6 separate regions of the Homo sapiens genome follow, and regions 2, 3, 4, 5 and 6 are each linked to region 1. Evidence: promoter capture Hi-C in 16 types of primary human blood cells and fetal thymus (Javierre and others, 2016). All regions are on one chromosome and are shown on one strand. The core of a region is centred on a gene start or on the middle of the fragment in contact, and the rest is flanking DNA. Distances in the headings are between cores, read along the strand shown. Region 1 holds the start of BRWD3 (bromodomain and WD repeat domain containing 3). Region 2 holds the start of FTX (FTX transcript, XIST regulator). Region 3 holds the start of RLIM (ring finger protein, LIM domain interacting). Region 4 holds the start of ABCB7 (ATP binding cassette subfamily B member 7). Region 5 holds the start of UPRT (uracil phosphoribosyltransferase homolog). Region 6 holds the start of CHM (CHM Rab escort protein).

Evidence for each region. Contacts are between HindIII fragments. The CHiCAGO score rates a contact against its expected background, and 5 or more counts as called.
Region 2: a contact is called between the fragment with the promoter of FTX here and a fragment that was not itself captured in region 1, in 4 of 17 cell types (fetal thymus, total B cells, non-activated CD4 T cells and 1 more). The highest score is 26.5, in fetal thymus.
Region 3: the fragment with the promoter of RLIM here is called in contact with a fragment that was not itself captured in region 1 in 6 of 17 cell types (fetal thymus, activated CD4 T cells, monocytes and 3 more); the score reaches 10.3 in fetal thymus.
Region 4: a contact is called between the fragment with the promoter of ABCB7 here and a fragment that was not itself captured in region 1, in 3 of 17 cell types (total B cells, non-activated CD4 T cells and naive B cells). The highest score is 6.9, in total B cells.
Region 5: a contact is called between the fragment with the promoter of UPRT here and a fragment that was not itself captured in region 1, in 6 of 17 cell types (fetal thymus, naive CD8 T cells, total CD8 T cells and 3 more). The highest score is 13.1, in fetal thymus.
Region 6: a contact is called between the fragment with the promoter of CHM here and a fragment that was not itself captured in region 1, in 1 of 17 cell types (total CD4 T cells). The highest score is 5.5, in total CD4 T cells.

The regions. Positions count from the first base shown.
Region 1 is chrX:80,806,505-80,811,056 of GRCh38, forward strand. BRWD3 (bromodomain and WD repeat domain containing 3) reads right to left here and starts at 3,373. Exons shown (of 41, transcript NM_153252.5): 1 at 2,937-3,373; 2 at 2,742-2,800; 3 at 2,509-2,538; 4 at 2,035-2,094. The coding sequence starts at 2,967. LOC124905202 (a long non-coding RNA gene) reads left to right here and starts at 2,304. Exons shown (of 2, transcript XR_007068278.1): 1 at 2,304-2,789. RefSeq lists an enhancer at 3,608-3,687. The HindIII fragment of the contact is 808 bases long and covers 2,046-2,853 here.
Region 2 is chrX:74,291,663-74,296,214 of GRCh38, forward strand. FTX (FTX transcript, XIST regulator) reads right to left here and starts at 1,912. Exons shown (of 7, transcript NR_028379.1): 1 at 1,690-1,912. It overlaps LOC124905199 (a long non-coding RNA gene), which reads right to left and starts at 934. Exons shown (of 2, transcript XR_007068266.1): 1 at 96-934. RefSeq lists an enhancer at 376-1,166. The HindIII fragment of the contact is 8,135 bases long and covers 1,007-4,552 here.
Region 3 is chrX:74,612,453-74,617,004 of GRCh38, forward strand. It overlaps RLIM (ring finger protein, LIM domain interacting), which reads right to left and starts at 2,172. Exons shown (of 4, transcript NM_016120.4): 1 at 1,970-2,172. RefSeq lists an enhancer at 1,777-2,096. The HindIII fragment of the contact is 9,843 bases long and covers 409-4,552 here.
Region 4 is chrX:75,154,307-75,158,858 of GRCh38, forward strand. It overlaps ABCB7 (ATP binding cassette subfamily B member 7), which reads right to left and starts at 1,977. Exons shown (of 16, transcript NM_001271696.3): 1 at 1,799-1,977. The coding sequence starts at 1,966. It also overlaps a transcript of UPRT not described here. RefSeq lists an enhancer at 1,658-2,087. The HindIII fragment of the contact is 6,846 bases long and covers 1-4,513 here.
Region 5 is chrX:75,272,111-75,276,662 of GRCh38, forward strand. It overlaps UPRT (uracil phosphoribosyltransferase homolog), which reads left to right and starts at 1,975. Exons shown (of 7, transcript NM_145052.4): 1 at 1,975-2,530. The coding sequence starts at 2,145. It overlaps LOC124905200 (a long non-coding RNA gene), which reads right to left and starts at 1,926. Exons shown (of 4, transcript XR_007068269.1): 1 at 1,368-1,926. RefSeq lists enhancers at 1,866-1,915, 1,936-1,985, 2,146-2,355. The HindIII fragment of the contact is 1,552 bases long and covers 1,515-3,066 here.
Region 6 is chrX:86,045,243-86,049,794 of GRCh38, forward strand. CHM (CHM Rab escort protein) reads right to left here and starts at 2,316. Exons shown (of 15, transcript NM_000390.4): 1 at 2,242-2,316. The coding sequence starts at 2,290. The HindIII fragment of the contact is 19,030 bases long and covers 1-4,552 here.

The sequences.
Region 1 (4,552 bases), core at 1,200-3,699:
TATGACAAGAGCTATAAAACTCATGAGACCCTTTGACCTGGTAACTCCACTTTAGGGAATAAAGTCCAGGAAAATAACTGGGGGCAGAAGGGATAGGGGAGAAAGTAAAAAGCAGAAAAAGACCACCTAACTATGCAAAGTTATTAGTAAAAATCTGGAAGTAGCTCAAATGCTCAACTGGAAGCTTGGTTCAAATCATATCGTACCTTAAATACAACTGAATTTTTTCTTACCATTAAAATAATGATGACTATTCAAATACACAAGTACATTTTTAAATGTTAAGAAAAATATGAAGCATAAAATGGACACTGATCACAATTATGTAAAAATGTCTTTACAATATGAGGAAAAGTCTAGTAAACTGGGTTGTTGGGGTTTTTTTGGTGAGGAGACTATTTTTTAATTACTTTGATTTTCATTTCCTTTTTATCACTGTCAAGTTAGTTTCAAAAAAGCTTTTTCCTTTTAATCTCCTTTGCCACTTGCTTAAAATAACACATATAGGCTGTGAGAAGGACAAATGTAAAGGAAAACATTTTCAATACACCTCAGTATTAAAACTATATATAAAAACCTGTATCAGTCATTAAGTGTTAAAACATATTAGTAGGCACTGTTGTTTTTGCCTCTTTTAGGGGGAGGGAAAGACTTAAGTCCAACAGAAAGACTGACTACAAATTAACCTGGCAGTACATGAAGTTTTTCAAAACTAATTTTTCTCCATCTGAGAAATTGTTACTATTAATAATACAGATGGTCGAGTTTACCCTTATCACAATTATACCATTTTCTGTGATTTGCAAAATATAAGAAAACTATACAGTCGGTAGACTTGATAATAATAATGTGGCCTCACTGTTGTAAGATAACACAAACAAAAATAACAAAATGAACATTGAAGCAATTTAAATATAGTCTTATTGCAAGCAAATTTTAAATCATTTATATTTAGAGTCTATCATACACCGCCAACTTTCTTTAACTTTGTCCGATTTTCCTCCACTTGGATCTTACTTGAAGGAAAGATAGCTGAATTTAGATTTTAGTAACATCATTCCTTTCTCCTTTCACTACCCTCCAATGCACTGTGGCAGCAGCTAACACAAGGGAACCTCCCCCGCAAAATAAAAAGGATCACCTGTTTTTGTGTGTCAATGCTGAACACAAGGTACATTTATACTATGAATTATATTTGCAGGAGAAACAACATAGACCAATGCCTTTGGTCCTTCACTAAAGTATATTCCATTTTTAAATATGTCCATTGTTGTCTCCTTGTAAACCCAAAATCGTGTTTCACCAATTCTCAAAAAGTGATAACTCAGTTTCTATTTAGTGAAAACGGGTCTATGCAAATGCGACTTAACTGATAATTGAATGAGCTTATAAAATCGGAGATACGTAACGATTATGCTTTTACTCAGTAGACCATTACCTAACCGGCAAAATTTGAAATTGGCTTGACGCTCCTTATTATTTTTAATTATGTCGTTTTTCCTAATCCCTGGTCCGTCAATTCCCCTCCAGAGCCCCTTCCTCCCACGCCTCCCCCCTGCCCCCCCGCCCCCCCCAAAAAAGACCAAGCCTGGCCTTAGTTCCCGTATTTCAGGCCAGGACCAACCAGAAACCAGTTTTCTTCCACTAATCCGGAACTCCGGGCTGTTACCAACGCTGTCATTGGCCAGCGTCAGACCTTAGTACGTGCCCCAAGATAACCCCTTGGTTTCTCTCCCTTTTCCGCCTACAATGGGCCTTCCCCAATGTTTGTAACATATTCATAATCCACAACACGGCACCTCTGATAATCAACTCACATTCTTCAAAGTTTTCGGGTGGAAACAAGCAGGGCCAAGGGGAGGGCAAGGTACCCTTTTTCCGACTAGCAGGGATGGGGGAAGGGGCAGTCGTTCTTTGGCTCTGCACCGAGCTCTAGAACCTCGTCGGCTGAGAGGTGGGGGGCGGGTTGGGGGTACAAGGTGGGGAGGGAGTGGTGAAAGAGTTAGGTTAAGTTGAAATGAAAACTTTACTCACCAGATCCTCGAAGCTTCTTCGGTGCTCTTTCCCCTCCCAATCTAAGCGGCGCGGAATCAGCTGGGGGCCGGACGAAAAGAAAGGGGGAAGCGGAGGCAAATGATGAAGGAAAAGCCTCCGCTCCCCATCAACTGGACCCAACCTGTGTCCCAGTCCTCAACACTTTACCGTCTTTATTTCTCTCGGCCTGATAGCTATTGGCTCAGAGCTAGACAAGTATATGGGGGGGGGGGGGAAGGGGGGTCGAGAAGGAAATCCTGAAAAACTGCCTCCCACAAGCATAAAGCGGGGACGAGTTAAGACCCCAGCGTTGTCTGCCCCTTTTGAGGGAAGAAGCCAATTCACCCCGGTGACAACAGCTACGGGTACCCAGATCGAAGCCTCTATCCCAGCCCGTCTTCCGCCCCTGACTTGCCCTCCCCTTCCTCCAGTCTCACCTCAACCCTCCCCACCCTTCCCGAAGGGGCTCCGTACCTGATGCTCCTCGAGCTCCTGCACTAGCACCTGAGCAAAAGGGAAACACAGATATGAGGAGCAGCTCGGGCCATCAACCCATTCCTCCCTCCACACTTAAAGCCCAGCCGCTGACCGTTTGACTAGTCAAGGCCGGCCTTTCCCTCACCCTCAACGGAACTGCTCGTCCCGCTGCCTCGATTTCCCCACTGGGACCATTCACCACGACTCCCAGATCTCTTTCTTCCCCTTACCTGAGCGGATTTGTTGCAGGGTCCAGACTGCAAGAACCTAGCGATCAGGTAATACAGCTCTGGGGAAGAGGGGGGAAAAGAGGTTCAGAGGGAGGTAGAGAAGAGAAATAGAAGCTTTTTCAAAAGAAACTGACAGCCTTCGCGCTAAGCCCCCATTCCCTTAGCACCCCCCCACCCCCCGACACAGCTACCCACCGGCTTCGATCTGGGTAGGTGCTGCCGCCATCCTTTTCCCGAGGGGGTTTGGGGGCTTCGCTCCGGAGGGGCTGGCGGGGGCGGGTGGGGGCGCTGCCTCTATTGTGGTGAAGCCCCCATGCCCGGGAGTCCCGCCGCTTCCGCCGCACTCCTCGTCCTAGTTTCGCTCTCTCTCGAATTCATCGCATCACGTTTCGACCCATAGATATTCTAGCCCAAGAGCTGAGGAGGCGGAGGAGGAAGGAGAGGAGAGGGAGAGGGAGAGAGAGAGTGAGTGAGTGAGAGAGAGAGAGAGAAGAGAGAGAGAGAGAGAGGAAAAAGAGAGAGAGAGAGAGAGAGAGAGAGAGAGAGAGAGAGAGAGAGACGCGGGGGGTGGGGGGGCGGAGAGAGAGAGAGAGAGAGAGATAGACGGAGCGAGAAGAGGGAGGAGCCGAAGTGGCGAAGAGGTGGGCGGGGGCAAAGGGGGTGGAGAGAGGGGAGGGTAAAAATGGTGATAGGGTTTTGCAGCGCTCATAGTTCCCCGCTAGAGGCACTAATACAGCAGCTGAGCCTAGACTCTCCCGGAGCCCGATGGTTGCTTAGCTACAGCTCTGGGAAGGAGGGGGAGGTGCTAACTGACGGCCGACGCTCTGGCAGCCGCCTTGGAACTCTGTGGTGGCATTCGCGTCTGCGAGCTCCGGAGTGACTTTCCCTTCCTGTGAAGGCAATCCGGCCCTTTCCGGTGGAGGACCCTTCCCCCTGGGTTGATCTTGAGGAACTTAAGAGACGGTGTTTTGACTCGACTCCTTTCCCCTTTTTCCTCCCGGTACCAAAGCGGTTTTGTTTGCTGTTTATACTCTACCCCGTGGAAAGGCGGCTAGCTGGCTAAAGGGTTTTATGCCTGGGGGAGGATGAGTCGCTATTTGGTCGTGACTTGTTTCTGTTTAAAATTATTATTATTTACCAAATGAAAATGTTGTACTTACCAGTCCAAAGTGCGGGGCTTATATTGTTAGAAGACCACTTAAAATGCTCCTGGATTCTGACAAATATTGCATGAGAAATTTGCAATCAGCCGTGAAGCATGTTTCCCCTTCTGAAAGTTTAACACGTGCCGTATCTACGGCTGGGATCTAACACATCCCATTCCTACAGGGTAATTTCCTATTGTGTTTTCAAATACTACTAAAGTACTTTAACCAAGAGTTTTCAATAATCTTTATGTATTATTGCCTATCTCTATGCAAGGTATCAATAGTTTTCTACAGGTTCGGGACTACACTGTTTAATATATAACCCCAACCCTTGGTACCGCACTGACCTTCAGTATTTGGTTGCTGAAATCTTCAATGATGAAAGGGGTTGGTATGATAATTGACACAGATTAGTAAACCGGGTCCTTTTCTTCCCTACTTTCCCGTAACATCCTGTCCCCACCCCACTCCCTCACCTAAACCTGATGAGACCAGAAATGCATTTTAAGTTGCATGTATTATTTACATTGAAATATTACAATTTGAAGGTTCATCTAAATTTAAGGCTATATTCTTGGGAATTGGGTTTCCTCACTCAGCTCTGCCACTGACCACAGTGGGCCTTGAATTTCTAAGTTGACATAAACTTAGCCTAGGTTGATT
Region 2 (4,552 bases), core at 662-3,161, 6.5 Mb before region 1:
CTTTAAAATAGAAACTCTAATCTTCTCCCTTGACAAAACCGTGCTGAAAGTTCTACAGAAGAAAAAATAAAGGAAAGGGTGAAAGCCCAGGTTACCTTCATACCACCACTGCCATTAACTACTTTTCAATCTTTCTCCACGACAGTATGAGTCCCAGGCAGCCATAGGTCCAAATTCCAGGTTTACGGCAAAGAGTAACAAGCATTTGGAAACACATCCAAATCCTCACGCCTATGTTCTCAGGGAAGAAAATCAAGAGCTTTCGGCCAACATTAACATTGGATTCTCACACTACAACCACAGTGTTTTGCTACTCTGATGGGGTGACTGTATTCAGAGCCAAGTACAGCGACCCAAGATCGGAAAGCCAGAGAGCCCTCCGAATGCGTACTGCCCAAATGTGGCCTGTCTCCAAGTGCTCCCTTTTTACGCATTTCCTACGCACCGCCAGCTGCCGCAACCTTTTGCAGAGTCATCATCGCCTCCTCATTTTTGTACCCACTTACCGATAGGCCACTGAGAGGCTAAGATTCTGGGTTAATTTCTAGTGGATCTGGCCACAGCATAGGAGAACTCCAACTCAGGTTGATCCCTTCACTCAGCTAAAAAGGTAGTTCTCTGCAAGGCCTGCTAGCCCAAGATGGCCAAGCAAAGACAGCTTACCTCCCCCCTCGCCATTTTGCAACCTTAATTACCCGAATGCTGAGCGCCTCCCCTCCCCGGCACTCCGTCTGAAATACGCATGCGCGCCGCTTCCTCCTTACCGTTCTCCCCAACCATCCAGATGTTGTCTCAAATATGCATGAGCGCCACCTCTACCTCCCAAACGCTGGTACCAACTCCTAGCAACTTTGCGTTGTTAAATATGCCTGCGAGTCCTTCACTTCCCGACCTTCCAACCCTCCAACCCCGACGCCATTCAAGCCTTGCGCATGCGTGCCTCCCTCTCCCCACCCCCGCCCCACTGGAGCCCGTCCCCTTAACTCAGGTCTTCTCAAATACTGTAAGCTTGAGCGCCGCCCCTCGGCGCCGCGCCTCCTCATCCAGCCTCTCAAATACCCTGCGCACCGCGATAGTCCTCTCTCTTCTTGCTCCCATTTGTATACAGTATGCATGCCTGATGCTATCTGGACGTGTTTCTCGCCACAATTCTGCCCCAGTGCCCAAGGAGAGCCATTACCAGCCTTCCCTAATGCGAGTAGATGCGATAAACTAGGGAAGTTGAATCGGGGAAAGAAGGCGTTGCAGGTGATCAGAGTGAATCCCAGATCTAGATGGAATCGGTCCCAACTCCAAGGGAGGGGGCTAGAGTACCCCAGGATTCACATAAGACCGGTCAACCTGAACAAAGGCAAGGAAAACTTTCACAAACCATCGGATGAACATAATCCTAAGGCCTCGCCCTTTAAATACATCTGCTACAAATGACGAACCACAAATGTTTTAAACAGGGAACATTATGGAAAACACCGATGCTCAGGTGCCTTGACTCTAGTTAGAGGAAAGGAACCCGCATTCCTTTCACAATGGGAAGCAAATGCTCAACATCCTTTTGGAAAACTGGGGCCTGTAACGTATTCCATTTTTTCCTCCCGTGAACTGGAAAAATGCACAAATTAAGGATCTTCCTGGCCCAAGTTCCCTCCGCCGCCCTCCATGTTCTGTTCTTCCCCTACATCGTTCCTTTACCTCCTGGTTGAATTCAGTGTCGTAGCAGGAATTCTTAGAGCTGGCCGTCCCAAGATGGGGTGGAGAGAGCGGCATGAAAGAGAGAGAGAGAGAGAGACACGCCTGAATGGCAGCAGCAGGCCTTAGCGGCAATGGACAGCAGGCACAGGACCAGCTTTGCCTCGAGCCGCAACGCTGATGCCAGAAAAGGACAACCTCTCCAGAATCGCCGCAGTGTGCTTCCAGCGCATGCGCTGCTAACGCCCCTTAACCCCCCCTCCGCGCCCCGCCTCCCCCACGCGCCGCTCTCCAGCCTCTAGGAGTCTAACCCTTAGCGGTCCACCGACCTCCTTCACTTCTTTCCCAGGACGCTATCCCACTCTGCTTCTTCCACCTTTCCCCTCCCCTCGGTCACACTGGCCTCCACCATCATCCCTCCCTCAGCCCATACTTCTTTCGTCAATCCCTCTCCCATTATTCTTAGCCCACCATCTACCTTTATTTCCTCTGCTATCGTTAGTGGTCTACCCTTCAATTCTTCACTTTCCCTGCCAGTCTGCAGCCCTCTTGGGCCTCTTACTCCTCTCCTCCTATGCCTGATGTTGAAATTTGTAAAAATTACCGCAAAAATTTTTTTTTAAATAATTGTAGCCCGGGCGCGGTGGCTCACACCTGTAATCCCAGCACTTTGGGAGGCCGAGGTGGACGGAACCCTTGAGTTCAGGAGTTCGAGACCAGCTCGGGTGACATGGCGAAACCCCGTCTCTACAAATAAATACAAAAATTAGCCGGGCGTGGTGGTGCGCACCTGTACTCCCAGCTATTCAGAAGGCTGAGGTGGAAGAATCACTCGAGCCCAGGAAGTCGAGGCTACAGTGAGCTATGATTGTGCCAGCTATGATGTTGCCAGCCTGGGCAACAGAGTGAGACCCCATCTCAAAAAAAGAAAAAAAATATTTCCACACATCCTCTCCAAAGCAGCTCTCAGGGTGAGCTCAACCAGCCTGTCTTGGGCAAAGAGAACACCTTTTTGATGATGACCCACAGGGAAGATCCAGAGACAGGGAACCAGAACAAAAACTGCAAAAGTGTTCAATCAATTTGGGGGTAAGAGGCAGTAGACCACCAACATGGAAAGCTCTTTTCTTTCTATTCACAACCCTGGTATTGTCTGGACATTAAAAATGAGATTCAATGTCCTTCACTGCTTACTACAAGGCCTGTTCTTGTCTTCTGTAAGAACTCAAATATTAATTTTGAGGGAAATGGCATTATTTACTTAAGAGGCTCTGAAATAGATCCCTCTTTGGGTGTGAACTAGAAAGAATACAAAATAATATTTTGTTTCTCTTTATTATGTTTTACTTTGGTGTCTGGTTCTTATTGCTTTCTAAAAGAGCCAGTTTGGAAATACCAAAAACTGAGACCCGCAAATTCATAAATCCTAAAACTCATAAACTTATACATCACCATCCTCTCAAATTAACTTAAGAATGTTATATCAACATTATTCAGAGAAAAATGGGTTTGCATTTGTTATATAATACGCCCAAAAAATTATACAACAATGTGCATATGAAGAAGAAAAAAGAGAAATAGGCATGCATTAAATAAAAAAGAAATGCCGAAATCTCAGTGGTACAAAGAACCTCTTCTAAATTAAAATAATCATTTATTATTACACAAAAGTTAAAATATAAGAAATTTTACCCCAAATTCTACAACACTATTTTAACAAATGCTCTTATCTCTGTTATTTTTCTGTTTTAATGGTTTTATTAATATATAATTTACATATCATACAGTTAACCAACTTAAAGTGTACAATGCAATGGATTTTAGTATATTCACAGAATTATGCAGCCACCACTACAATCAATTTTAGAATATTTTCATCACCCCAAAAAGAAACTTCATACCCATTAGTATTGTCTTAGTCCATTATGTACCACTGTAACAAAATACTGCAGACTCGGCAATTTATAAAGAACAGAAATTTATTTCCTCACAGTTCTGGAGAATGGGAAGTCCAAGACTGAGGAGCTGGCATCTGACAGTGGCTTTCCTGCTACATCATCCCATGGTGGAAGGGCAAAGAGATAGAGAAAGAGAGAGTGCGCGCAAGAGGGGGCCAGAACTCATCCTTTAATAAGGAACCCACTACTGAAATAACAAACCCACTCCCTCAATAATAGCATTAAGCTATTCATAAGAGTGGTGCCCCCATGACTCAAACACCTCCCTTTAAGCCTCACCTCCCAACACCACCACATGGGGCATCAAATTTCCAACATATGAACTTTGAGAGACATATTCAAACCATAGCAAGCATCTTTGTGTTCTCTTATGATTTTTGTTCAAATATATAATGTTTTGGCTGGGCGTGGTGGCTCATGCCTGTAATCCCAGCACTTTGGGAGGCCAATGCAGGAAGATTGCCTGAGACCACAAGTTCGAAACCAGCCTTGGCAACATAGCAATACCCTGTCTCTATTTAAAAAAAAAAAAAAAAAGAGGTGGGGGCCAAGCACAGTGGCTCGCACCTGTAATCCCAGTACTTTGGGAAGCCAAGGCAGGCAGATCAGTTAAGGTCAGGAGTTCAAGACCAGCCTGGCCAACATGGTGAAACCCCGTCTCTACTAAACATGCAAAAATTAGCTGGGCGTGGTGGCGGGCACCTGTAATCCCAGCTACTCGGGAGGCTGAGGCAGCTGACTCGCTTGAACCTGGGAGGCAGAGGTTATAGTAAGCCGAGATCATGCCACTGCCCTCCAGCCTGGGTGATAGAGTGAAACTCCATCTCAAAAAAAAAAAAAAAGGAAAGAAAGAAAAAGAAAAAATGTATATATAATGTTTTAACATTAACTTTTTTTTTTTTTTGAGA
Region 3 (4,552 bases), core at 922-3,421, 6.2 Mb before region 1:
TACCCAACACCATCTAACATCTATCAATGAGCCCATCCAATTACAGGGCCTGCAAAATAGAACAATAAATATTTGTAAACATGCATTCTACACATAAATCATCAGGAGACGCAACAAAAAATAAATTACCTGACTGTTATGACATAGTATTGAAATACAATAAACTGGATTTTAGTTTTCTTCACTCTGCTCTAGAAAAAAAAAGAATCCATTATTCTTCCTCTTTAAAAAGATACACATTTTCTTTGAATTAGACACAACCTAAAAAAAAAAATACAGACACACCATAACCCAACCTAATTCAATATTAGTATTAGGGCATTTGGGGAGAGCAAGAAGGTCAGAGGGGACCAGGAGTTAGATAAAAGATGTCTTCTAAGACTGAGAGACAATTTACGTTTTATTATAAGCTTGCTTAAAATAAGCCTTTCCTTATCAGACCAGTAATTATTTTCAGATTCTGATAGTCACTTTCAAGGACTTATCTGGCACATTACACTAGCCTAAGGTAGGAACTAAAGTATTAAAATTCATCAGAACATCATGGACTAAAAAAATCTTTGTAACATTTTTCAGTAAGTGGAGTGTGTCCTAAAATCAAGTTTTAAAAAGTGGATTGGTCTTTCTAGCTACCTAAGCTATATTTCTACAGTTTAGAAAAGTCATGGGGGGGGAGGGGTTATAATTGTGCCAGTCCTCCAGGGAAGATACAATGTACTTAATGGGGTGATAAGTAGTTACTCTGTCTATAATCACGAAGAATGAAAGAAATGATTAGTAGCAGTAGGTTTATTATTTCTTCCCCCTTTCAATCAGTCCAAAACACTGCGGTTAATTCTGATTCAGGAAATGCGGGCTCCTTACTTCTGGCAAAAAATCATTGTGGGGTCTTGCAAATGGAAGATGACAATCTGATACAACTGCTTCCTCTTGCCCCAAAATGAAAAAAAAAATGACCTCAATAACAAGACTGCTAGGCCTCAGATTCCCAGACTAACCTGTGGAATAAGTATGGTGAAACTGTCTAGGGAAGGAACGTGGCTGTCTCCTCCATCTTGAAATTAATCAGCATAAGGGAAAAAGGGACCGAGTATTCAGGAAGCAGAAGCCCAACCGGTTAATACTAGTTACTAAGCTATGGCATGCGTGGCAGGTACCGTCTGCAGAAGCAGAGACCCCCCTAGGCTTTTTTTTTTTTTTTTAATGGGGGAGGGATTGAGTTGTTGGTGGATTAAACACAAATTAACTTGAAAATTTGGCCCAATTCCATCCCTTATCCAGGAGAACACAACAAACACCTAACGGCTTTTCCCTCTCTTTTGCGGGGGGATCCTTCCAGTGATACCTGGCAAAGGATATGCCAGGGTTATTCGAGCAAGGGAGTAAACCACATTTGCCTCAGATCCTCAGGGAAGATGTCATCGCGGCCCCAGGGGGCGCCTAATTGGTAATACCCTGCAGAAGGGCTCAAAATGAGGTTTTGGAAATCTAAAGGCCCAAGAGTTGCCAGCATCTCACTTGGGGCAGCCTGATTTTTTACTTCCCTTTTCCCAAACCCAAGCCCGCCATGGAAAACGCGGGGAGGTCAGGGAAGCCTCCAGAGAACAGAGAAGAAAAAGCCTGAGACGTTCTAAGATTCTGACGCCTGAGGCCAAAACTCAAAAACTGCCTCCCCCGATTTCCTAAGGCTCCGGAGGGCCTGGGCTGCAGCTCGCGCGGCCACCGAGAGGAAGTACTACCCACCTCCTTCCCCTTCAAAGAGCCTGTCGACTATACCACTCAACTAAAATGGCAGCGGCGACTACGCCACGGAGCCCCCCGCAGCAACGGGCCTGGGGTCCGGAGGCGGCGCTGAGCCTCTGCCACGACGCGTCACTCGGGCCATTTTGAGAGAACGCGGCAGCCGCGGCTCCGCTGTCTTCCTCTCGCTCTACATCATTTCTCACAGGATTCCCAAGTCTTCACTTACTAGGTTTTAGGGTCAGGATCCGACTCGGTTGGTTCGGCCGCCGCCGCCGAGGCTGCTCCGCACCTCCCTGGCCGCCGCTCTCAAGCCCGCCTCCAATGAGTAGCTGGTTGAGACCCGCCTCTAGCCCAGCGCCTGCTCGGAGACGTTGCTCAGGCAGCCATTATCTTCCCCATTGTTACCAAGCAGCGACAGGAAACGACTGCCCACAACAGGAAGTGATGATGCCGCGTCCCGGCACCGCAGCCCCACTCCCAGCCTATTAGCCAATCCCAGTCGATTCCTCGAAAAGGCTCCGCGGGAGGAGGAGGGGGACGGCAGACGACGCGGCAAGGCGGGCGGCGGTTTGGAAAAGGAAAGCTGTTATGACGCCCACCATGTGACAGGCCCCACCCTCCTCCGCCATTTTGAATTGTGGCGAGAAATTTGCGTTCTGAGAATTGTGGGAACCTTCGCTTTCCCATTTTGAAAACTGAAGGACGTCACGGTCTGACTGCTTGAAGACATTTTCAGAGAGAGAGAAATGTGATATTAGTCTACCCTGACATCACATCAGTTCACACAATCCGTGCAGACCAGTTCAAAAAGTAGCCTGCGTTTTATTCAACATGTATTTACACAGTGCCAACTGCATGTCAAGCACCATTGTAGCTGCTTAGGAAATTAAAATAGACCAAAATTAAGAAAGAAAACAGGCCACGTTCGGTGGCTCACGCCTGTAATCCCAGCACTTTGGGAAGCCGAAGCGGGCGGATCACCTGAGGTCAGGAGTTCGAGACCAGCCTGGCCAACATGGTGAAACCCAGTCTCTACTAAAAATACGAAAATTAGCCGGGCGTGGTGGCGGGCGCCTGTAATCTCTGCTAATCGGGAGGCTGAGGCAGGAGAATAGCTGAACCCAGGAGGCGAAGATTGCAGTGAGCCGGGATCTCGCCACTGCACTCTAGCCTGGGTGACAGAGCAAGGCTGTGTCTCAAAAAAAAAAAAAAAAAAAAAAAGAAAACAGATCAAAATCCCAGTTCTCTTGAGTCTTTATAGGGGCCAGGGACAATAATTTAGAAAAAATCAAACATAAATACATATCATGTTAGTGATAAATGCCAAGGAGAAAAATCAAGGAAGGGGGACAGAAGAGTTCCTTGTAGGGACAAACGGATTCGTGATGTTTAAAAGACTGATAACTTTGAGGCATTAACTCTAAAGTATTCGAAAAAGGGCGGTGATTGTAAAAGGGTGGGAAAATCTGATAACGTTGGGATTTGTAAAAGGGCAGTTAAAGAAGGCCTTTCTTAGGTAGTAATGCCTGAAAGAATTGAGGGAACTCGCCACACAGCATGCCACTCCCATTGTCACAGTTAAAGGAAAACCTTACCCAAGTTTTTAGATTCTTTTCCTTTTCCCAATTTTTCTGTTTTCCAATAGCATGCCAGCTATGCTGGCTTTGTTACGGTTTTTCCAACAAAGCTAACTTCTTCCTACTTCAACTACTTTACCTTTGCTGGAATATTTTACTTTCATATCTTTGCTTTCATCATCCAAGCCTCGCAATTATTAACTTCCTAGAGAAGCCTTCCCTGACCACCCTACCTAAAATAACTTCTTCCTGAAGGCGGAAAAAGGTCTGAGGAAAAAAAAAAAAAGAAAAAAGTAATAACGACTTCTCCCATCTCCTTACCTGCTTACTTTTCTTGTAAAACACTTAATCTGAAAGTAAGTTATTTATTTGTTTGTTTACTTCACCCTTTCTGAGCAGTAAACCTCTCTGTTTTGTTCACTGTTGTGTCCCCAGCGACCACATAGTAAGCCCTCAAAATACTTTGGGAGAATTACCCCCTCACCATGATGGATGTTATATCAGCCTGGAATATAAGTATTTCACTCCAAGCAGTTAAAACAATATCCCTCATACTTACCTGCCCAACTCCCTAGAAGACTCATTGATATTGTCATTTTTGGCAGAGGGATACATGATTTAGGCGCTGTGTCTCTACTCAGGTTTTTGTCTTATTTTACATAATCATGTACTAGAACGATTACCTAGAACGTGTAAAAGGAATTCTTCAGTAGCCTGCAATTGCCATTAAGCCTGATATTCTGATTATGGCAATAACATTAGCCACTCCTTAACGTATTCTTGAGGCTTATGTGGCTTAATCTAAAATATAAAATCATAAAAGAAGTGGAAGAAAATACAGGTTACTATTTCTGTCCTTTCTTCCTTCCTTCCTTCCTTCCTTCCTTCCTTCCTTCCTTCCTTCCTTCCTTCTTTCTTTCTTTTTTTTTTTTGATGGAGTCTTGCTTTGTTGCCCAGGCTGGAGTCCAGTGGCATGATCTCAGCTCACTGCAACCTCCGTCTCCTGGGTTCAAGCGATTCTCCTACCTCAGCCTCCCCAGTAGCTGGGATTGCAGGCATGCACCACCACGCCTGGCTAATTTTTGTATTTTTAGTAGAGATGAGGTTTCACCATGTTGGGCAGCCTGGTCTCCAACTCCTGACTTCATGATCCGCCTGCCTGGGCCTCCCAAAGTGTTGGGATTACAGGCGTGAGCCACTGTCCAGGCCTAGGTTAATATTTCTATAGCCTT
Region 4 (4,552 bases), core at 727-3,226, 5.7 Mb before region 1:
AATAACTTCTCCTTTTCCCTCTTCCCCCTCATTCTTCCAGCTTAAGAAATTTTATCTTAAGATATCTAATTTTATCTAAGATAACATTTACAAATTTTATCTTAACTTCATCTGCCTTATTGGAGAACTACAGAACAAAAACCATTCCCAAGAGATCATGTGTTAGAAACTTTCAACCATAAAATACTTTAAAAACCTTAATGAAATCATCTAGATTCGCTTCGTTAGCCTAATCTGCTATTTCCTATCTTGAATGACTCACTACAGTCTAAACTACGTGCAGTTCTAGAAAAGGTCCATGTTCTCTCTGACTTGTGGGCCTTTGCACATGCGATTCCTTCTTTAACTGGCTAACTTCTAATTTTTCAGCTCTTGCCTTAGATATCAGTTACTTAAGGCAATCTTCACTACCTTACAATTAGACTTAATACCCCTCACATATACTGTCCCATACCTTGTACCTTTCCCATTATTACACAGCTCCACTATATTTTAATTGCCGATTAATTTACATATTTCCCACTAGATTTTAAGCTCTTTAAAGACAGGACTTATATTTTGTTTGCTCCTGTAGAGGTGTTCAATAATTACTGAATGAATTATAAATGTCATTCCATCAGCCTTCCACATGCTTAGTGTCATTCCCTATTCTCCCTGTTCAGAACATTCTCCCCAGTTCTATCACCAGCATGAAATACTCTTTATAACCTGGTCCTTAATTATCACTATTTCCTCTGGATGCCTATAGCCTTTATTGTACATACTATTCATTTGCTAATTAACCCACCACTGTGTTTTTCAGTTATTTTTGTAATGCATAGATCCAATCTCCTTAACTAAACTGTACAATCCTTGAAGGCATAACTGTATGTCTCTCTTAGTACCCTATCATCTAGCACAGGGCTATGTACAAGGTAGACGTTAAATATTTGTAGATGAAGAATCAAAATTTAAGAGGTTGTTTCTCATACAAAACTGACAATATTTTAAAGTGATAGTGATAAATACGTGGTGGCAATTAAACCTCTTGTCAATACACAGAAAATAAAAAGATATACTTTAGTACAGTTAAGTACAAATAATTTTTTAAAAAACCGTTCCTGAGTGAGAGGTAATAATGGACTCAAATTTTAGGAGGCACTACAACCATAGCTACATTCATAAGTTAAGGATAAGTAGCCTATGGCTTCCAAAATGACCTGTGCACAGAGAACATCACTGTATTTTTCAGATCTAGGACAGTCATATTTATACAAGAATTTAGGGCGGTCTATGTTTTGGAAAGATAGTTACGGTTTTGGCCTATCAAGAAGCACGCCTGTCAGCAAGGGAGTTAACTGGCGCCACCTGTTTATAGATAGCTTGCTGTCATTACAGTGCTCTCCGAATTGCTAATTCCAACTGAGTAAAATCTGAACCACAGATAAACTGTCCCAAATTCCATTACTAATTGGGGAAAATAATCCAGTCTTCCTCGTCTTTAGAAAGGCAAGCAGGCTGGGAATGGTGTCTACCCCAACTCTTAATATGAGAGAAAAACTATGACTCCGAGAGCCTCCAGCGCTCCAGGTGTCCTCTGCCCAGAACCTCCTGCCCCGTTTCCCTTTGCTGAACTCAAAGGTTTTCTTCTTCGCCCTTTCCTCAAATTACTGACGTTAATTTCCTTCACTTACTGCTGCTCCCAGTTAGCCATGACTTTCTTCTTGGTGCTCTCTCTGCCCCGAGGTCAGGAGGGCAACCTTTTCCCTACAGGTCCCCTTGCCCTTCACCCTATTCTTCCATGTCAGTGGCATCTCACCTGGTAGGCTCGAGCGGTTCCCAAGGCGCCGAGTTGATGTGGCCTCCACTGCGGACCTGAGCCGCTAACAGAGACTAAAGGCCGGATCAGAATCGCGGAGTGCCGGCGCTTTTCGAAAGCAGCCGCCGCGGCCGCCCAGCGCCAAGAATGCATCGCGAGCAGCGCCATCTTGAGCGAGGAAAGAGGAACCGAGAGAAGAGGATTATGGGACACTGGCGGACTGAATTCGGCTACCTTAATTGTCTCTCCTCTTCTTGTTTTCCCAGGGCCCCAGACCGGAAATGGATTCTGTTTGAAGATTCGGATGCATTCGCACAGCCTCTTTTATTTGTTTTTCCTTAGGGCCGAGCTTTGATTGTTTTCCTTACACAACCGGGAATATTGGAGTAACACTGTATTTTTCTCTTTTCCTGGAGTTGCCAGATGAAATACAGGATGCCTACCTAGTTAAGTTTCAATTTTACATAAACAACGAATCATCTCTTCGTGCGTGTGTCCCAAATATTGTATCTGCTAAATCTGTCAACCCCATCTTGTCTCTCATAATACTCTCTTACCTCCTCCAACTCAATGTCACGCTCCCCTCTCTCCATTTTCCCTATGCATATTCTTATCTTCACTCCCTTCTGAATTAAGGAAAGATTAAACTACAGACGTTAATTTCCCCTGGGAGGAGGCTTCAGCTGTAAGATTTACTGCTTTTCTGTCCTGTAAGGACTTTAACTTTGCTGATTGTTCTCTGTTGCGCAAACCTTGGGGCAGTTTTCCTTTGGTCTGTTGCTCGTGGGACAGTCTCACACACACACACACACACACACACACAGAGAGACTACAGACATCTTTACTAATTTTGTCACTCTTTCTAGCTCTTCGCTTTGGTTTTTGCAGCGTCCCTAATTCTTGAAAAATCGCTTAGGTTGGCTGAAGGGTGGTAAAGTGAAATGTATGGAGAGAAGACCATGTTTAAAGACAGGCTTATATTCTTTTGTCACCACTATTATCAAACAAAATGTCAAAATATGTTTACAGTTATCTAGGAAACTGCATTTCCAGTTGTAAATGTTACCTGAAACCCCGGAGACAATAATGCAGTTGCAATTTTATATTCACTGCTGCATTCTCCAACTTTTCACACAAAAGAGACAAATAATTATGGACTTCTTATGAAGAGGTACTTTGGACTAGTAAGTCTGATAAAGAAAAACAGAAATCTGTAGCCCATGCAGTTAGCTTTTTTGTTCTGGGATTCATTCAAGGGGATGCTTGAGCTAGTTATTTAAAGAAAAATAGAATTCAAGTTGAAGAGGTTGACTGGAATTACACGTAAAGAAGATGACATGTTAAAAGCAAGAAGGCATAAGAAAATATTTTCAGGTTCAGGAGTCTATGGAGTTTGGGAAAGTAGTAGGAGGTTAACCTGAGTGAACAGAGACCTGATGGTAAAGGGCCTTCTATTTCATTCTAAGAAGTTAATACTTTATCCTATAACCAGTGAAGAGTTTTAATCAGGAGAGTAACATGATCAGATTTATATGTCCATTAAGCTACTCTGGCTTAAGTGAGAAGGTTGGATTGGACGGAGTTCATATTGAAGTCATGAAGTTAATGCAATAGTTCAGTCATAAAATAAAGGCCTCAACCTAGCAGTAGCAGTGGCAGTAGATCGATTGCAGGGCAATTAGGAGATGGAATTGGCAAGACTTAGTGACTAATTGGATGTTTCTAGCTTATTATTGTATTGTTGACAGTAGATCAGTAATGGCTTCATATTAATGACTATATTGTCATCAACAAATATTTATTCAGCATCTATTCTGTGTTAGACAGCTACAGTATACATTAGAGAAACTCTAGACTCTACTAATGATTTCTCTTAGGGCTGAATATTGCCACTGAATCTTACCACCCAGTTGTAAAGTCTTTGAATGGAGCCAAATTATTTTTTTCCAAAAGTAGTGCTCATTGTAAGCCAACTGTTTTGATCAAAAAGTGTGAATAACATTGAAATACCCAAGTTGTTACTCTATGATGAGCTAAAGTGAGGCAAATATTTATTTGCCAAATAAGCCGAAGAAAATTTCCAGGGCACCCAGAAATAGAACGTGAGGCATAATAAGAGTTGCACACTGCTGGGGAAGAGCAGCAACAAAAAGGCCAACTCAGCCTGTAATAACTTGACACATAACTGTCTGACATAAATTAAAGAGACAGAGGTATACACAATAAAAGCTGCTATAAATAGCTGCTACAACCACAGATCACATGATAGCACTTTATGTATGCAATAATTAAATGTGTATAGTATTTTGTAACTTACAATCCGCTTTGTCATACCTTATTTCATTTAGTCCTCACATCGACCATGGAAGATAGGTATTATTTATTAATATGCCCATATTTATGAGGAAACTGAGGCTAAGAAAAGTTGTGACTAGGTCAGAGGCCACAGAGCTAATGGGATGGAGACCAAACCTAGGTTTTATGACTCCAAACATAGTGCTCTTTTCACTTAATAACACCTGAAATGTGGAAGAAACACTTGAGCAATTTAAGAAGGCCACAGTGGTCTTCTGTTTCTAAAAAATACCAGAACTTATTCTCACCTCAGGACCTTTCCACTTGCTTTCCCCTCTACCAGGAATATCTTTCCTGTAGATTTTTAAATGACTTTTTCTTATCTTTCAGGTCTCAAAACAAATGTCACCTGCTTAGAGAAGCTTTCCAAGAGAACCTTATCTGAAGAGGCCACCCCCT
Region 5 (4,552 bases), core at 725-3,224, 5.5 Mb before region 1:
TCCAGCAATCCCATTACTGGGTATCTACCCAGAGGAAAAGAAGTCATTATACAGAAAAGATAGTTGCACACGCATGTTTATAGCAGCATAATTCGCAATTGCAAAAACGTGGAACCAACCCAAATGTCCATCAATCAATGAGTGGATAAAGAAGCTGTGAGATATATATATATATACACATATATATGTGTATATATATGTGTATATATACATATATATGTATATATATATATACACATATATATATGTGTATATATATATATGTATATATATATGGAATACTACTCAGCCATAAAAAGGAATGAATTAATGGCTTTTGCAGCGACCTGGATGAGATTGGAGACTAATATTCTAAGTGAAGTAACTCAGGAATGGAAAACCAAACATTGTATGTTCTCACTCATAAGTGGGAGCTTAGCTATGATGGATACAAAGGCATATGAATGATACAATGAACTTTGGGGTCTTGGAGGAAAAGGGTGGGAAGGGCTTGAGAGATAAAAGACTACAAATAGGGTACAGTGTATACTGCTCGAGTGATGGATGCACCAAAATCTCTCAAATCACCACTAAAGAACTTACTCATCTAACCAAACAGCACCTGTTCCCCAATAACCTATGGAAATAAAAAAAAAATTATAAAAAAATCTGTATAGGCATGTTAAAAAAAGGAAGGACAGAAATACCATTCAACTCAGCAATCCCATTACTGGGTATATACCCAAAGGAACATAAATTATTGTTTTATTAAAGACACATGCACACATATGTTAACTCCAGCACTATTTACAATAACAAAGACATGGAATCAACCTAACTACCCATTAATGATAGAATGGATAAAGAAAATGTGGTACATATACACCATGGAATACTATGCAACCATAAAAAATAATGAGATCATGTCCTTTGCAGGGACATGGATGGAGCTGGAGCCTATTATCCTTAGCAAACTAACACAAGAACAGAAAACCAAATGCTGCATGTTCTCACTTATAAGTGGGAGCTAAATGATGAGAACACATGGACACATAGTGGGGAACAACACACACTGGAGCCTACTGCAGAGTGCATGGTGTGAGAAGGGAGAGGATCAGGAAAGACAACTAGTGGGTACTAGGCTTAATACCTGGGCGATGAAATAATCTTTACAACAAGCCCCCATGACAGAAGTTAACCTATGTAACAAACCTGCACATATATCCCTGAACTTAAAAGTTAAAAAAAAAAAAAGATTCTTGTATCCCATCTCGGATCTACAGAATCACAATCTCAAAAATGAGCCGTAAGAACCTGCATTTTAACAAGCTCTACAATTATTGTGGTACATACTGATGTTTGAAAAGTACTGCCCTAGACACTCTTACCTCAGGCCGTTATAGTGAGTCCATACACTTAAAAATAAGCGTCTTTCCAAGTACTTTAAAGATTCAAAATGATAGTGGATCTGAAATGCCGCCTGAGTCCCCATGACAACGTGTACACTGTGGGGCCCAACCAATAAAGATAAGAAAAGCTTTGGCGGTCAAGCATACTTGGGAAGCTGCAGTTTCTAGAACAGTCTAGTAGAGGACAGCCTCTTCAGCAGCCTGCTAGGCATTTTTTTACTTCTTCCTTCTGTTATGCAGACAAGCTAACTGAAGATGCGGTTACTGAGATATAATTTCTCTGCTAGGTCACAAAGTCTGAAAACATGGGCCTTACGTGTGTAACTGTGTATCATCACCTGCCACCCCCAGTTTTTCCTGGCTCTACTAATCACCCAAAGTTCTGAATGCAGAAGCCCCAGGGGCCCCCGGAAGATCCTTCAAGCTGGCATCCTTGGCCTCGCTGCGGGGGCTTAGCTACCTGTGGGAACCCACGTAGCAAGGGTGACTCAAAGGGTTAACAAGCAGTGGCGCCGCAGAGTGGCGGGGAGTGCAGCCAATAGGGTGTCTAGGCAGGCAGTACGTCTGGTGTGGGCGGGAGTGAGCCAAAGTGTGCTAAAGGAAACCAACAGCGGCCTAGGGGTGAAAGGACAGCCAGGGTTAGATGTTCTGAGGAGGCGGGAGCAACCGAGAGAGCACGTGAGCATCTGTCCTTTCTACCCGTTCCTCTTTATCTTTAGTGTTCAGTAGCAGCGGGGATAGCCCGGGGCCCGGTGTATGGCCACGGAGTTACAGTGTCCGGACTCCATGCCCTGTCACAACCAGCAAGTAAACTCTGCCTCAACCCCAAGTCCCGAGCAGCTGCGACCTGGCGATCTGATCCTGGACCACGCAGGGGGAAACAGAGCCTCCAGGGCCAAGGTGATTCTCCTCACGGGGTACGCCCATTCTAGCCTGCCGGCCGAGCTGGACTCTGGGGCCTGCGGCGGCTCCAGCCTCAACTCAGAGGGCAACAGTGGTAGTGGTGACAGTAGCAGCTATGACGCACCAGCTGGCAACTCCTTCCTAGAGGACTGCGAACTCTCCCGGCAGATCGGGGCGCAGCTTAAGCTGCTGCCTATGAATGATCAGATACGGGAGCTACAGACCATCATCCGTGACAAGTAAGCCAAGAGCGGAAGGGGAAAGGGAAGTGGAGGGTCTTGCAGGCTGTGGGCGGGGATTGGAAGTAAAAGGGCTAAGAGACAGTGTTCTTGGCCTTGGCAAACTTTGGAGATTGGGGTAAGACCTTTTATTTGGTGTGTGTGTGTGTGTGTGTGTGTGTGTGTGTGTGTGTGTGTCGTGTAACTCGAACGCCAACCTTCTCTTTCCAAGTTCCGGTGTCTAACATCACTTTGGGTGGGGAGGAAGACTTTAGGTAGCCTCTGGGCTCTTTGTCTCTCCCAGGAAAGACAACTCCTTGGCCATTCCAGGCAGGTAAACTCCCCTATACTATGTGGGCAGTGCTTGTCCACATGGTAAACCTATAACCCAGAAATGGTTACTATCCAAGGTTATGCACTACCACCAATCACCTCAGGTTCATAAATAGAAATAAAGCAATTTCAAGGAAATTCTATTCAGGCCCTGACCCTTTAGTATTTGCTACTGCAAACAAGGTCTTTTAGTCTTGGAGTTCAGGTTTACTTGATCACATGAAAGCTTATCGTCCAACTCTTATCATTTTTCACTGTAAACTCACAGAACATAGTTAATGGATCAAAGGGAGCCTAAAGGAGCCTTTGGCCCTTCCTAATCCCACAAACCAATGTAGCCAGAACTTCATGTTAAAATGTAATTTTGAAATTTCTAAACCTACGTTGTAAATGGGTTTTCTCCAGGGAAATATGTACCATGATGAACTACAGCTATTTTCTTTATTGGCAGCACTTTAAATGAGCAGCATATCAAAACACCCCTTTTTTAGTGGCAGGGGTTGGGGGGACATGCCTTGATCTTTTAAAAATGGCTACTGAATGACAGATGCCACTCCCTAAACCAGACTCTAGAAACCTTGTCTTACACTATTGTAATAATACTGTTTCTCTGCTTGCAGTTTTTCCTCTCTTCCACATGCACCCATACATTACTGTACAATCAATCTTCATAACATACATCTTTGATTCAGTAATTGCCCTACTCAGCAACCTTCTTTGGCTTCTCAGAGCCTACCAAATAAAGTCCAGGATCCTTAGCTTGATTGATATTTTTGAGACAGGATCTTTCTCTGTCACCCAGGCTGGAGTGCAGTGGTGAGATCACAGCTTACTGTACCCTCATACTTCTGGGCTCAAGTAATCCTCCTGCCTTAGCCTCCTGAGTAGCTGGGACTACAGGGACATGGCACTGCCCCCCGGCTAATTTTTTATTTTTTTGTAGAGATGGAGGTCTTGCTATATTGTCCACGATGGTCTTGAACTCCTGGCCTCAAGCAATCCTCGTGCCTCGGCCTCCTAAAATGTTGGGATTACAGGTGTGAGCCACCATGCCTGGCCCCCTTAGCTTGGGATGAAGGCCCTTCTTCATAGTTCCTAGGAACAATTCTGAAACATATCTGTTTCTGCTCTCATCTGGAATTCCCTGTGTCTCCTTTATGTACGTTCAGGATACTTATTCTTCAGGGTGAAACACAGCATTAAATAATTGTCCACCTCTGCCAAGAAGCTTCCCTTTAATCATTATTCCTGGCTTATCTTCCCTGGTCTTTTTAATGCAAGATTCACCTTCTTTTTCGTATATTGTTATTTTTGTATAGATCTTATCCTGCCTATGACATCTTGAAGGCAGAAATCTTTTACATTTTTGAATGCCGGCCATGCCTTGCAAATAATAGATGCTCAATTACTAGAGTTTTTTTGTAGCTCTTAAAATTATATTTATGAAACTATACTATTTTACTCTTTTTAATGAATCAATATTGAAAACTACTGTGGTTATGTTATCTAATAGACAAAATAGTGATCCTAAAAAATAGGAGGCATAGGTTTGCTGTAGTTGTGGTAGGGTAGGGGCAGCCAAAATAAATCTTACATATACAACAAAGAAAAATAGATGATGATTCTTGTTTCTATAGAGCAGAAGTTACTACGCTTGGGTCTTCGACTCCCTCGTACCAGTAGATGGGTTCAGGGCTTTAACAAACCCTC
Region 6 (4,552 bases), core at 1,066-3,565, 5.2 Mb after region 1:
TTTAATAAAGCAAACATTTTAAAGGCTACTTTCAGCAAACTATTTCACAAGAGAAATATCCCAAGCACACTAAAAAATAAATCAAATTAAATCATGATTGGAATTGTTGGAATCATTTATTTGGGGAATGACTCTTTTATTCAATTTTTACACTTTTGATGTACCTAAAAGCAAAATTACATATCATAAATTTAAGCAATGTGCTTGATAAAACCTAGAATGTGTCACCAATAAACAATATGAAAAATTTAAGTTTTAAGATTAACTTCAAATAAGTTCTTCCCAAACACTGAAAAATAACATTGCACTCACTGGGATAAGTATAAAATGAGTATTTTTCCAAATATAAGCGATGTCACCTGATGCAATTCTCTGGCTCACTCACTGTAACTTCCTACCTCTACCATAACAGACTCCATCAGGATGGATGTCTTCCAATTCTGAACTGTACAGAAGGCAAAATATTTATGAAAAACATTAGCATCATTCATAAGAATTAACATTCATCAATTAAAATTTGAACCCAGACCTGAAAAAAAAAATTGTTGATTAAAAAAATTGTTAAAAACACCTCAAGTTCCTACACAAAAAAAGCAAGATTATAAAACTCAAGTATGGTATAACAACTATTCCAAAATGGATGCTGTTCTCAGTTTTAGTATAGACTTAAAAGAAAAAATGAATAGTCCATTGGCTCTTTCCAGCTCTCATCCAACATCTGTTCATAGCAGCTACAACCAGGTTATTTGCAGCCATGCAGTTATTTTCAGGCTAAGAATAAACCTGTCCATGCTGTTCTGAGAACTGTTACCCAGGCATTTTTTGTTAGACAACATAAAGACCATCTATTTTACCTTCCTTATATTCAAAAACAAGGAAACTGAGGCTCAGAGAGATTTAGTGCCTGGCCCTCCCAATTCAAGCAATTCATACTAGCACTAAGCAAGACCTAAAACCAAGTTTTCTCAATTGTTTCTACGAATATGGGTCAACTCTGAGGATCAGAACCACTGACTGTTTTCCTGGGATGGAATGGGCCTTTGGAAATTTACCAGCTGTGTGATCCTGAGCAAATTACAACTTTTCCAAGTCCCCTTTTCCTCTTCTACAAAATGCAGAGAGTACCTACTACTCTAACAAGGTTGTGAGGATTATGTTCGGCTTGTAAAGTGCTTAGCACAGTGATTAGGAAATTTTAAGCATTCGAAAACAGGTAGCTATTATTTTTACTCCCAACCTGAAAACATGGCTGCTCCTAATCATGGCTGTATGAGAAGACAACGAACTGAATTCATTAACACAATGGACAGGGTCCCATCCACCAGAGCTTCTCTGGCCTACCACATTCTACAAACAGTAAAAAACCCCATCAAACAACCTATTTCATTCCATCTAAAATGATCATCCCTTACACTATTAAAAAAAATTGAAATTGCTGCCATATGTGTTCTGCTACGTGTTGTACACTGAATATGTCAACTAGAAACTGCAGAGGAGTTTCTGGTTCCACCCAAAACATGAAGAACAAACGACGGGAAAACAAGAGTTAGATAAGGTCACACACCTGAACTGGAACTCAGGACCTTATTCTCAGCACATTTAGTTATTGATGGTAGAAAGCAAGATGCTTTAAGCACCATAAAGCAGGAATAATGGCTACCTCAACAAAATAAAATTCCCTAGGTTTCTCAACAAAATAGAATCCGTTTACTTTCCCTAGTAAATTCATACGCACATGGGCAATAATTGAGCATCTTTCTTGTAAAACTGAGGATTAAGCTGTGTCTGAGCTGCGATGTATGCTAAGATCATACAAATCTATGAAAAAGTCCTATGAAATGGCGAGACAAAATGATGGGGAATATCACCTTGAAATCAATAAGGAAGGAATCATAATGTCTTGCCAAAGTCGTCTCCGTTGATAAAATCCCGACCCTCCATTTCATGACACTGCACATCCACTTCCCTCTAAGGAAATTAACAGGAATCACCGCAGCAACCAACCTCAGCAATCAGCATCGACCAGATCAACCCCTACTCAAATGGCGATAAGCACTGCGGGTCCCAGCCCCTCCCTGTAACTGCCAACTCCCGCGCTGACTCCGGACTACCTCACTTCCTTTCAGTTCTCCCTCCCACTCTCGACCCACGATGTTTGTCCCAAAACTCGCCACTGACAGAAAAAACAGAAACAAGACAGTCTTCCTAAACTTTGTCCAGGAAGCACCAGGCTACACATACCCGTCCCTATTACGATCACATCAAACTCCGAAGGGAGAGTATCCGCCATCTTGACGGGAAACGTGTCATGTGACTATTACTTGTGGAAATGAGATCAAGTTAGGCATTCCCTCCGTGGAAGGCGGAAAAGAAAACAGTGCATTCTGGGTGTTGTAGTTCTTGGGTGGAAGGTCCAGGCAGGCGACTACAGTATTATATTTAAAATGTTTACACGTAAGTTAAAAGCTCGACTCATTTTCCAGGCTGAATGCTGTAGCTCATTTAGCCTGGAGGGTTGAAGTAGGAAAGAAATGTAGATTTTTATTCCGTTAGCTAGGATGAATGTGGGAGACTTGGATACCCCTTGACAATACTGAAGCAAAATTGTTAGGAGACACGGAGAGCGGAGTGAAATTGAAGGCGGTTTGCTCTGTGAACAAAGGAGACTTTCATTCCAGCCTAAAAAACTGTTTCCCGCCATCGTTTCTGTACTTTCGTGTTGGCCCTCGAGGCATGGTTTTTCACACCAATACTTTCAGAATATATTCCATATCTTTTTCGTTTCCATGTCTCCTCGATGAAAACCCACAAAAAACCTCTCACCCTAGTTTCGCCAGAATGGAACTCCCACCGCGTCCGTATTTGTTCCAGTTAGTCCAGACAGCCACTCGGGCAATAAATTAGCCTTGCTTTACAGGAGGGAAAAAATATATGAAAGCATGGTTGCGCTGGATAAGCGTCTGTTGAGTCTGAATTCGATTTTCCGCACCAACTAGATAAGTTCATGTAAGATTCTCCTTAGTTTACATTTAGTTTCCAATCTATTAGTTTCCATAAGCTACCGTAGAAATAATTAAGGTAAAATGGTCTTTATATTAAAGTGATTGTATCTGATGAGGGGCTTTAGGTCGTCTATGTCTAACAGCTAACATAGCTCTCATAAGTATCTTCAAGGTCTGTCGCCTCCCACCGCTTCCCTCCAACCGCCCCCCACCCTGCCCCCGATTATTTAATACTCCGCTGTCTGACAACACCAAAGCAAAAGGGGAAGGATGCTGGGAATGAAGGAGGATACTTTTTTGACGACAGAAATTTCTTGTGTAGTTATTTTACAAGAGTTTCAAAATAAATCAAAGATAATGTGCAGTAGTGGGCCTTCCCTGACACCACCTATCCGCTAAGATGCTTGTGGTTCCCCAGACATTGTTTTCTTTCCAGTCTCTGACCACGCTCATGCTGTTCTTTCAGCATGGAATGATCTTCCCATTCTCTAGCTAACAGTTATTCCCAGGATGTCGCTGGGCTTCCACCTCCTCCTCCTTTCGTCTCCGTGTGTGGGCTGTTTCCCTACATGGTGCTAGACTTTGTCTTAACCCGCCATACTGCATTTATGACGATTCCTATAGAGTACACATATCCCCATATATCCACACAAAAATACACACCCAGACATGCAATACCATAATTATAAACCCCTGTACAGCATGACAGACACCAAGTCTCATTTATCTTTTTCACTCCTGCACCTAACCTAAGCCCGGTGCATAGTAGGAATTTAATAAATGTTTGCTAAACCAAACTTGATTTTGACTCCCCTAATAGATGGATGAGACGAGTCCCTGTCCTCATAGTGCTTACCATCTTTGCCTTTATATCTGCCCACCACTATCATGTGTCTTATATTTAGAAGATGTTCAGTGTCCATTAATTGTAAATATTTACATGAAAATGCTTTAAAATGTATTTTGATACGCTTTTTACTGCATTTCTCTTGCATTTTACCATAATCATTAGCAACATTGTACATGTTTCATTACTTTCTTTTATAGATCATCCAGTTGTATTACACAACTCTCTTAAGATATGGTCTTTGATTAGTATTTTCTGTAAAACAGATTCCCCTGAGAAGTATAATGTACTGTTCAGTAAACCACTTTGTCATTTGCCTTGGTATGTAAAGCAAGTTTTTAGTATTATCAGAAGTGAAACAGATATTATTTGTGAGACTCTTGATAAGACAGTAGAAAATGGAAACAAATGGATTTCTCAGAGTAAACACAGAAAACTTTCCAAAATCTTCTCTAATAATGAGAAGCCACAGATGGATGGTTAAAAACCTGATAAATAAAAGTATTTCTACCATACTTTGGATATATATTTATATACATTTGTTCATGTATACGAGATATATAAACTACATACATATACTTTTCAATATGAGTATCACTGACCTTCTAGGGATTCAGAAATTTTCTGACAATCACACCATGAAGATGCAATTCATTAATTTGTTTATTCCTCAAATATTCATTCAGCACCTACTATGTGCAAG